Linked DNA regions of Homo sapiens: region 2 is linked to region 1. The links are contacts of gene promoters, found by promoter capture Hi-C in human tissues and cell types (Jung and others, 2019). All regions are on one chromosome and are shown on one strand. Each heading gives the region's core, a stretch centred on a gene start or on the middle of the fragment in contact. The rest is flanking DNA. Distances are from core to core; before and after follow the strand shown.

The links. The method cuts DNA at HindIII sites, captures the fragments that hold promoters and counts their contacts. A contact is called where the count stands out against the background at its distance.
Region 2: the fragment with the promoter of ZNF121 here is called in contact with the fragment with the promoter of OR7G1 in region 1 in 2 of the 25 tissues and cell types used here (adrenal gland and aorta).

Annotation. Positions count from the first base shown.
Region 1 is chr19:9,113,784-9,119,115 of GRCh38, reverse strand. OR7G1 (olfactory receptor family 7 subfamily G member 1) reads left to right here and starts at 3,353. Exons shown (of 1, transcript NM_001005192.2): 1 at 3,353-4,288. The coding sequence starts at 3,353. The coding sequence ends at 4,288. The HindIII fragment of the contact is 5,916 bases long and covers 1-4,490 here.
Region 2 is chr19:9,582,959-9,588,075 of GRCh38, reverse strand. It overlaps ZNF121 (zinc finger protein 121), which reads left to right and starts at 3,572. Exons shown (of 4, transcript NM_001008727.5): 1 at 3,572-3,615. RefSeq lists enhancers at 3,182-3,993, 4,808-5,117. The HindIII fragment of the contact is 2,529 bases long and covers 2,152-4,680 here.

The DNA.
Region 1 (5,332 bases), core at 2,104-4,603:
TAGCTGGGAGTGGTGGCAGGCGCCTGTAATCCCAGCTACTTGGGAGGCTGAGGCAGGAGAATCGCTTGAACCCAGGAGGCAGAGGTTGCAGTGAGCCGAGATTGCGCCACTGCACTCCAGGCTGGGTGAAAGAGCAAGACTCCATCTCAAAAAAAAAAAAAAAGAAAGAAAAAAAGAAAAGTGGATGATGTACACTTGGCCTCTAGGGTCAGGACAGCAGCCATCCTGAATTTCTCCCTTGTTCTGCAAGGATTTAAGCACCCTGGGATTACAGTGCCAACACAAATTCCTTGGCTAATGAGGAGCTTTGGCAATTGAGCCGCTAGGGAGGCAGAGACTACAATGTACCAGTGACCACCGCATTCATGAGCCACTGTGCCCAGCCAGAAGCTTTTATTTCTTATAAGAGAAAGAAACTCTGACTATAATTTACATGAATAAGAAACAGAGTTATTTTTTATGACAAGAACTTCAGGGGTAAGAAATGCATGGGAGCAGTAGTGTGGGGATTCATGCAAGCCTCGGGAAGATGGCTCCATGTCTGTGCTGATTTTCCTCTTGCAAACAGATGTCTGCAGAAATGTAGGCATCATATTCAGACATGGTGCTCAGAGAAAACCGACGGTCTTTCTGTAGGTCTGCTGTGAAGAGAGTCTATTTGTAATAGAAATTTTCTTTTTAAATTTTATTTTTATTTACTTGTTTATTAGAGACAGGGTCTCACTCTGTCACTCAGGCTGGAGTGCAGTGCCACGATCATGGCTCACTGCAGCCTTGAACTCCTGGGCCTCAGCGACCCTGAGTAGCTGGAACTACAAATGAGTGAGTGCCACCACACCTGGAGATATACATATATATATAATCCTCTATATGTATAATTATATGTATATTACACAAATATATTCTAATTGTATAATTTTAGGATTAGCTGTAGTCTCAGTGCTCCCGTGCAAAACTGTTTACTGTGTCTTCACTAGGAAGATTACTCTGTAGAGAAATACTTTCATTTGAGAAGGAGATGTCGAGTGTAAGACAAGACAGGAGAAAATGGAAGTTGGCAAGATTTTGGGGCATAATTTTTTTCTATAAGCACACACACACACACACACACACACACACGCAGGATCATCAGTCAGAATTATCTCTCTAAGTGTGAGGAGCAAACAATGGAGGTGTCAAAAGAGAATCAAAGGAGTGGGTGGAGAGTCTTCTGTTGCAGCTGTCTTTGGAGCTTGAGGAGCTGGCTTTATTTTCACCAAAATATCTGGGAAGCCAGGCATGGTGGCTCGTGGCTGTAGTCCCAGCTACTTGGGAGGCTGAAGCGTGAGGATTGCTTGAGGCCAGGAGTTTGAGACCAGCCTGGGCAACATGGCAAGATCCTGTCTCTAAAAAACCCCCAAAACAAAACAAAAAGCTCTTACATATCTGGAACGCAGCTCCTATTCTAGCACTCATAGAGTCTCCTAGGACTGAGATTCCTCTGTTGGTGTCCACAGAACAGACACAGAGAGGAACCACCCGAGACCTTTCCTCATAGAGAAGGTTCTTGGCCTTGCCCGAGAACTACTGGTGTTAAATCTCTGAGAAATGTGTGAGGTATGAGAATTTTTAATAAGCACTTGGAGAGATGCTGATAACCTCTGAAGCCTGACACTCCTAACTTTAATATTAGGAGAACATGAGAAAACATATTTAGGGTTAGAATATGAAGGGTCTTTCTTTAATCATACTTGTTACATTATCATATACAAAGTAATGCATAAAATCTATCTATCTGTAGGTAGTGTAGAGCACAGTGGCTCACGCCTGTAATCCCAGCACTTTGGGAGGCGGAGGTGGGCAGATCACAAGGTCAGGATATGGAGACCATCCTGGCTAACGCAGTGATACCCGTCTCTACTAAAAATACAAAAAATTAGCCGGCCGTGGTGGCGGGCGTCTGTAGTCCCAGCTACTCAGGAGGCTGAGGCAGGAGAATGGCGTGAACCTGGGAGGCGGAGCTTGCTGTGAGCCGAGATCGTGCCACTGCACTCCAACCTGGGCGACAGAACGAGACACTGTCTCAGGAAAAAAAAAAAAATCTATCTGTAATTCTGAGAGAATAGTAACATGATAAAACCGCATATACCTATCTGGCATTAAAAATAAGTTAATGTCATCACCATAGAACCTACCTGTAGGATTTTCTACTCAAATCACCTTGTTTTCTTCCAGCAACAAATACACTATCCTGAATTCTGTAGTTACCATTTTCTTTGAAAACAGGATGACTGTTATAAAATTCTCTGTAATTTACTTGCAGTCTTGTGGGGGAGAGGAGGTGAGCAGCTTGCTAAACTTCACCTTATCTTCACTTTCCTGTGGTGTTTTTTTTTTTTTTAATGGAGTTTTGCTCCGTTGCCCAGGCTGGAGTATAATGGCATGATCTCAGCTCACTGCAACCTCCGCCCCCTGGGTTCAAGCGATTCTCCTTTCCTGGTTCTTGACACAGCTTTGTATTATTTCTGTTGGCTGGCGTGAAGTCTCTGGGGGTCCAGACAGAGTCTTCCAGCCGTTTTCCTGGTATGTACTTTGTTTTATTTTATTTATTTTTTGTTTTTTCATTACCAAATATTTTTAATAATCAGAACAGCAGAGTGGTGGCACATGCCTGTAATCCCAGCTACTCAGGAGGCTGAGGAAGGAGAATCGCTTGAACCTGGGAGGCGGAGGTTGCAGTGAACCAAGTTTGTGCCACTGCACTCCAGCCTGGGCAACAAGAGCGAAACTCCATCTCAAAAAAAAAAAGATGAGGCTGGGCGTGGTGGCTCACGCCTGTAAACCCAGCATTTTGGGAAGCCAAGTTGGGCAGATCACTTGAGGCCAGGCATTTGAGAGCAGCCTGGCCAACATGGCAAAACCCCGTCTCTACTAAAAATACAAAAATTAGCCAGGTGTTGTGGCAAGCATCTTTAATCCCAGCTACTTGGGAGGCTCAGGCAGGAGAATTGCTTGAAACCAGGAGGCAGAGGTTGCAGTGAGCCAGGATCAAGCCACTGCACTCCAGCCTGGCCACAGAGCAAGACTCTGTCTCAAAAATAAATAAATAAATTTAAAAAATAAATAAATAAAAATAAAAAATGATGACCCCTTAACCATTTCCAGAATTAACAATTATTGATGCTGTGCTGTATTAGCTTCAAGTTTTGTAAAAGCAGTAAAGTAATATCAATACAAAAGGCAACACTTATTTATTTTCTTCCCTTAGAATCTACCCCTTTTCAAGATGGTGTTTGCCTCTGTTGACGTTGCTCCCGCAGTCTAGAAAACACATTTGATTGTCTAATTATCCCATTTTTTGATCATCAAAAACATGGGACCCAGAAACCAAACAGCTGTTTCAGAATTTCTTCTCATGAAAGTGACAGAGGACCCAGAACTGAAGTTAATCCCTTTCAGCCTGTTCCTGTCCATGTACCTGGTCACCATCCTGGGGAACCTGCTCATTCTCCTGGCTGTCATCTCTGACTCCCACCTCCACACCCCCATGTACTTCCTTCTCTTTAATCTCTCCTTTACTGACATCTGTTTAACCACAACCACAGTCCCAAAGATCCTAGTGAACATCCAAGCTCAGAATCAGAGTATCACTTACACAGGCTGCCTCACCCAGATCTGTCTTGTCTTGGTTTTTGCTGGCTTGGAAAGTTGCTTTCTTGCAGTCATGGCCTACGACCGCTATGTGGCCATTTGCCACCCACTGAGGTACACAGTCCTCATGAATGTCCATTTCTGGGGCTTGCTGATTCTTCTCTCCATGTTCATGAGCACTATGGATGCCCTGGTTCAGAGTCTGATGGTATTGCAGCTGTCCTTCTGCAAAAACGTTGAAATCCCTTTGTTCTTCTGTGAAGTCGTTCAGGTCATCAAGCTCGCCTGTTCTGACACCCTCATCAACAACATCCTCATATATTTTGCAAGTAGTGTATTTGGTGCAATTCCTCTCTCTGGAATAATTTTCTCTTATTCTCAAATAGTCACCTCTGTTCTGAGAATGCCATCAGCAAGAGGAAAGTATAAAGCGTTTTCCACCTGTGGCTGTCACCTCTCTGTTTTTTCCTTGTTCTATGGGACAGCTTTTGGGGTGTACATTAGTTCTGCTGTTGCTGAGTCTTCCCGAATTACTGCTGTGGCTTCAGTGATGTACACTGTGGTCCCTCAAATGATGAACCCCTTCATCTACAGCCTGAGAAATAAGGAGATGAAGAAAGCTTTGAGGAAACTTATTGGTAGGCTGTTTCCTTTTTAGCGATCTTTGTCCTCTGCTTTGAATTGGAGCTTCTAAAATAAATCATCATAACAGGATTCCTTGGTAAGCCAGAGTGCCTGACTCTTGCATCGAGATTTACTTTTTTTTTTTTTTTTCGAGGCAGAATCTCGCTCTGTCGCCCAGGCTGGAGTACAGTGGCACGATCTCGGCTCACTGCAAACTCCGCCTCCCGGGTTCATGCAATTCTCCTGCCTCGGCCTCCCGAGTAGCTGGGATTACAGGCACACACCACCACACCTGGATTTTTTTTGTATTTTTAGTAGAGATGGGGTTTCACCAGGTTGGCCAGGGTGGTCTCGAACTCCTGACTTCAGGTAATCCACCCACCTCGGCCTCCCAAAGTGCTGGGATTACAGGCATGAGCCACTATGCCTGACCTACTTTCTTTTTTGTGATCTTTGTGCTCTGCTTTGAACTGAAGCTTCTAAAAGGAATCAACATGACAGGATTCCTTGGTAAGCCAGAGTGCCTGACTCTTGCATCATGAAGATTTTCTTTTTCTTTCTTTCTTTTTTTTTTTTTTTGTGACAGAGTCTCGCTCTGTCACCCAGGCTGGAGTGCAGTGGCACGATCTCCGCTCACTGCAACCTCCGCCTCCTGGGTTCACGCCATTCCCCTGCCTCAGCCTCCTGAGTAGCTGGGACTACAGGCGCCCGCCACCATGCCAGGCTAATTTTTTGTATTTTTTTAGTAGAGATGGGGTTTCACCGTGTTGGCCAGGATGGTCTCAATCTCCTGACCTAGTGATCTGCCCACCTTGGCCTCCCAAAGTGCTGGGATTACAGGCGTGAGTCACCGCGCCCGACCTTTCAAGATTTTCTTAAAGTGACTAGTCTGCATCATGGATGTGTGTGTGTGTTTTTTGTTGTTGTTGTTGAAATCTTGCCTCTTTTGGAGCTCTGTCATGTGTCAAAAATGAATTCTATTCTCAAAGCTCAGTTTCTTTGCATGCGGTGTTTAAAAAGTTAACCTGTGGCAAGTGTTACAGTGATTTGGTTGGTAAATATTCTCAGAGGAAGAAAA
Region 2 (5,117 bases), core at 2,323-4,822, 470 kb before region 1:
ACTTCCTCATAAAGCACCCTTTTCCCAAACCGCTCACTCCATCACTCTCTTTAAATTAGTCAATCGGAATTAGTTTAGCCTGTGAGGTCCAACCCTAGCCAGTAGGGGAACGACAGAGCAGTAGGGACCACGTGTGTCAGGAATAAGAACCCCTTTCCCTCCCTTGTCCAGGTGTGTGCCCACCATTGCTCCATCTGTGAGAGTGCACCCTTCTATAGAAGTATCTTGCCTTGCTGAGAATTAAAAAGAAAATTTTATATTCAAGTGTTATTTCTTTTGTGGCACCAAAACTTTATATGTGACAGACTGGAAGTTCAAGAGCAGCCTGGGCAACATAGAGAGATCTCTTCTCTACCCAAAATATTTTTAAAAATTAGCTGGATGTGGTGGTGTACATATGTATTCCCTGGTACTTGGGCAGGAGGATTACTTGAGCTCACAAAGTAAAGGCTGCACTGAGCAATGATAACGCTACTACACTCCAGCCTGTGTGACAGAGTGAAACCCTGTCAAAAAGAAAAAAAAAAAGTAGAATGTGATTTTAAACATCAGAACTAAACAGAATGATATGCTCAGAGAGGTTTCCCTATCCCTATCCTCTCCATTTTGTTCTTATCCCACCATTCTGTTCAAGCCCTTCCCATCTATCCCCGATAGATTCTGAATCTTATTATTTTCAGGATAGTCCTATCAGTGTTTCCCTGTACTCAGAATGAACAGATAATTACATATTTTATTTTTATTTTTTTGAGACTGAGTCTCACTCTATCGCCCAGGCTGGAGTGCAATGGCGCGATCTTGGCTCAATACAACCGCCGCTTCCCGGGTATAAGCAATTCTCCTGCCTCATCCTCCCGAGTAGCTGGGATTACAGGCGCCCGCCACCATGCCCGGCTAATTTTTGTATTTTTAGTAGAGGCGGAGTTTCACCATGTTGGCCAGACTTGTCCTTCAGAACTTTTTAACTGGAAGATATGCTGCCAGGCTGCTGAGCATCGTCACTTAGTCATATAAGCCCCCTCTTTGATTCCCCTTCTCCTCTGGGAGTCTTTCTTCCTTTCCACCCTTTCTGAGCAGCGACCCACAGGTAGAAGCCTGTGGATATTCTCTTGCTGTTTGCTACCTCCCGCCACTCCTTACCTGTCAAAGCACATCCCAAATGAAGCTTGTGTGCTACTGCCGCCTTGTGGTCACGTCTTTTTCCTTACTCAGCCAAGAAATCACTTACACCCTGAATGCGTATATGGTTTTATTTTTCACATTTAGATCCCTAGTCCATTTAGAGTTTATTCTTGTATATGCTGTGAAGTATGGATTTAATTTCATCTTTTCTCTGATGGCTACCCAGCTGTCTTAGACTTTCCATTACAAATGGCTTTTTTTGCCTCATTGATCTGAAATACCTTTTTTTTTTTTTTTTGAGATGGATTTTCACTCTTGTTGCCCAGGCTGGAGTCCAGTGGCGCGATCTCGGCTCACTGCAACCTCTGCCTTCTGGGTTTCAGCGATTCTCCTGCCTCAGCCTCCCGAATAGCTGGGATTACAGAAAGCCCACCACCATGCTTGGCTAATTTTATTTTTGTATTTTTATTAGAGACAGGGTTTCACCATGTTGGACAGGCTGGTTTCGAACTCCTGACTTCAGGTGATCCTCCCGCCTCAGCCTCCCAAATTGCTAGGATTACAGGTATGAGCCACCGCGCCTGGCAAAATACCACATTTATGAACCAAATTCCTACATGTTCTTGGGTCTGTTTTTAGATATTTTATTAGTCTGTTTCTGCTTCATGTGCTAGTACCACATAGTTTTAATTATAGAGGCTTTATAGTATGTCTTATTTATTTTTATTTTAATATAATTTAATTATTTGCCTTGTGTGAAAACTGTTAATAGTATGTTTTAACATCTGCTGCTCATCATTGCTTTTGTTTTTGTTTTCTTGGTTATTATCAGATATTTATTCTTCCACATAAACTTTAGTATCAACGTACCTAACTCCAGAAAAAACTTTTAATATTTTTACTGGGATTATGTTACATTTCTGAATAAACCTGGGGAGAATGTCTGGTGTCAGTGCTATTTTACAATGTAGGAAATGTGGTCCTGGCCCATGTGGGAAGATCAGAAAAATAACAATAGAAATACATGTTTTTGGCCAGGCGTGGTGGCTCACATCTGTAATCCCAGCACTTTGGAAAGGTGAGGCAGGCGGATCATGAGGTCAGGAGTTCGAGACCAACTGGGCCAATATGGTGAAACCCTGTCTTTACTAAAAATACAAAAATTAGCCGGGCATGGCGGCGCCTGCCTGTAATCTCTGCTACTCAGGAGGCTGAGAGAGAAGAATCGCTTGAACCCGGGAGGCAGAGGTTGCAGTGAGCAAGATCGTGCCACTGCACTCCAGCCTGGGCAACAGAGCTAGACTCCATCTCAAAACAAAAACAAAAACATATTTAAAATTTTTTTTAAACAGAGACGGGGTCTTGCTGTATTGCCCAGGCTGGTCTCAAACTCCTGGCCTCAAACGATCCCTTGGCCTCCCAAATTGCTGGGATTATAGGCATAAGCCACCATACCCAGCCAGAAATACATACTTGATGAAGACAAAAAAAAATCAAGATTTACAGAAAATATTATTATATTGAAAACGTGGCCGGGTGCGGTGGCTCATGTCTATAATTCCAGCACTTTGGGAAGCTGAGGGAGACAGATCATTGGAGGTCAGGAGTTCGAGATCAGTCTGGCCATCATGGTGAAACTCTTCTCTACTAAAAGTACAAAAATTAGCTGGGCGTGGAGGCAGACATCTGTAATCCCAGCTACTCGGGAGGTTGAGGCAGGAGAATCACTTGAACCCGGGGGGCAGAGGTTACAGTGAGCCGAGGTCATGCCACTGCACTCCAGCCTGGGCAACAGAGTGAGATCTGTCTCAAAAAAAAATAAAAAATGAAAAAGAAAAACGAAAAAAGAAAACGCAATGGAACCAGCAGGTTCTAAAAAATAAAGAATGAAGAAATAAAGGCCTACAGAAAGCCTGACTGAATAGAAGAGATAGACCATGCCATTCACTGGCAGCTTTATCCATATGGAAGAATCATGGAAAGGCTCTAGGAACATGAGATGTATACAAACAAGCTTTATATATATGTATACACACATATATATTTTAATAAAGGATGTTGCTATTTTGCCCACGCTGGTCTTGAACTCTTGGACTCAAGCTATCCACCTGCCTTAGCCTCCCAAAGTGTTGGACTTACAGGCCTTAGCCACTGTGCCCACCTGGGAAAAGCTCTGCAGGAGCATCCCCTGGGGTGCGTCCCATCCCCCACGCCCGCCCTTCCAGCAGGTCCGGCCACCTGAACCGCCGGCTAGCCGGGTCCCACCTCTAAACCGCCCCCAAGTAAGGGCCTGTCCGCGCCCACCCGGGAAGAAACTACAATTTCTGTGTTTGACTGGGTCCTATGTGGCTGAAACTCGAACCCAGGAGCCCCGCCCGGCCCGAGGCTCGGAGCGGAAGTGACGTCAGCGCACAATCGCCATCTTTTCCGGCGCTGGCTCCGCATGGTCAGTGCCATTTCGCCTTTATCGTGGTGGAGTCCACCCTGGCTGTGGTGAGTTCCGCCTGCTTGGGGATCCCGGAGATAGCGGGGGGCGGCAAAGGAACGATTGGGTGCTGTCGCCCAGGAGCCTCTCCGATCCGCCTCGTTTCACTCTCTTCTCCAGGGGCTGTCGGTCCTCCTTGCGCGGCCAGTGGCTAGAGGCCGCAGGCTCAGTGGGTCCCAGTCAGGAGCCAGGTCGGGAAGTGTGTTTGTCCCGACTCCGCGCGTTTTCTGGAGTGGTTTCATCCGCTGTGCTCCCTTCTTCAAAAGCTTGGAAAGCAACCTTTGTGAGTTTCTTTCTTTCTGAAAGTAAAAGGATTTCTGCCGTTCCAGTCAGGTTGGCTCCGGCCCCGCATTTCCGCGCCTCAGGAACCTGGCGTTTCCGGCATGTTCCTGGTGAACACCTGCAGAAAATTGGTTTCAAGAGGGCTCTGACTTCCATTTCTTTGCTTAAAAATGTCTCGTCTGAGAATCTGGCATTGATGTCCTATTCTTATTTTTGACACATTACTTTCTGATGGAAAAAAAATAGTCGTTTAGGGTGTGCCTATATCTGCATGTAAATATGAACACGTGTAGACTGTGAGCCTTTAGTTTCTTATTTTATTTTCTTGGACTTAATGTTTTTTGTTGTTACCAGCTACAAGCCTTTCTACAAAAGAAAGGCAGGCTGGGCGCGCTGGCTCACGCCTGTAGTCCCAGCCATTTGGGAGGTCGAGGCGGGCAGATCACCTGAGGTCAGGAGTTCGAGACCAGCCTGGCCAACATGGTGAAACCCTGTCTCTACTAAAAATACAAAAAATTAGCCAGGCGCGATGGCGGGCGCCTGTAGTCCCAGCTACTCGGGAGGCTGAGGCAGGAGAATGGCGTGAACCCGGGAGGCGGAGCTTGCAGTGAGCCGAGATCGCGCCACTGCACTCCAGCCTGGGCAAAAGAGGGAGACTCCGTCTCACACACACAAAAAAAAAAAAAAAAAAAAAAAAGCCAGGCTTGGTGGCAGTCCCCTGTAATCCTAGCTACTTGGGAGGCTGAGGCAGGAGGATTGCTTGAACCTGAGAGGCCGAGGTTGCAGTGAGCCGAGATCTGCCACTGCACTCCAGCCTGGGCGATGAGAGCGAAACTCCGTCTCAAAAAAGAAAGAAAGGCAATAATACACAGCTGTTGTCTTTATCTGAAGTTCCTAGGTCTGTACCCCCCCACAGAGCTTCAAAACGGGCCCACAGGAAGAAAGGATGGAGGCTTTTGTTTGTTTTTTTCAGACGGAGTCTTGCTCTGTCGCCCAGGCTGGAGTGCAGTGGCGCGATCTCAGCTCACTGCAACCTCCACCTCCTGGGTTCAAGTGATTCTCCTGCCTCAGCCTCCGAGTAGCAGGGACAACAGGCATGGGGACCATGCCCAGCTAATTTTTTTTTTTTGTATTTTTAGTGGAGACAGGGTTTCACCATGCTCGCCAGGCTGGTCTCGAACTCCTGACCTTGTAATCCGCCTGACGGCCTCCCAAAGAGCTGGGATTA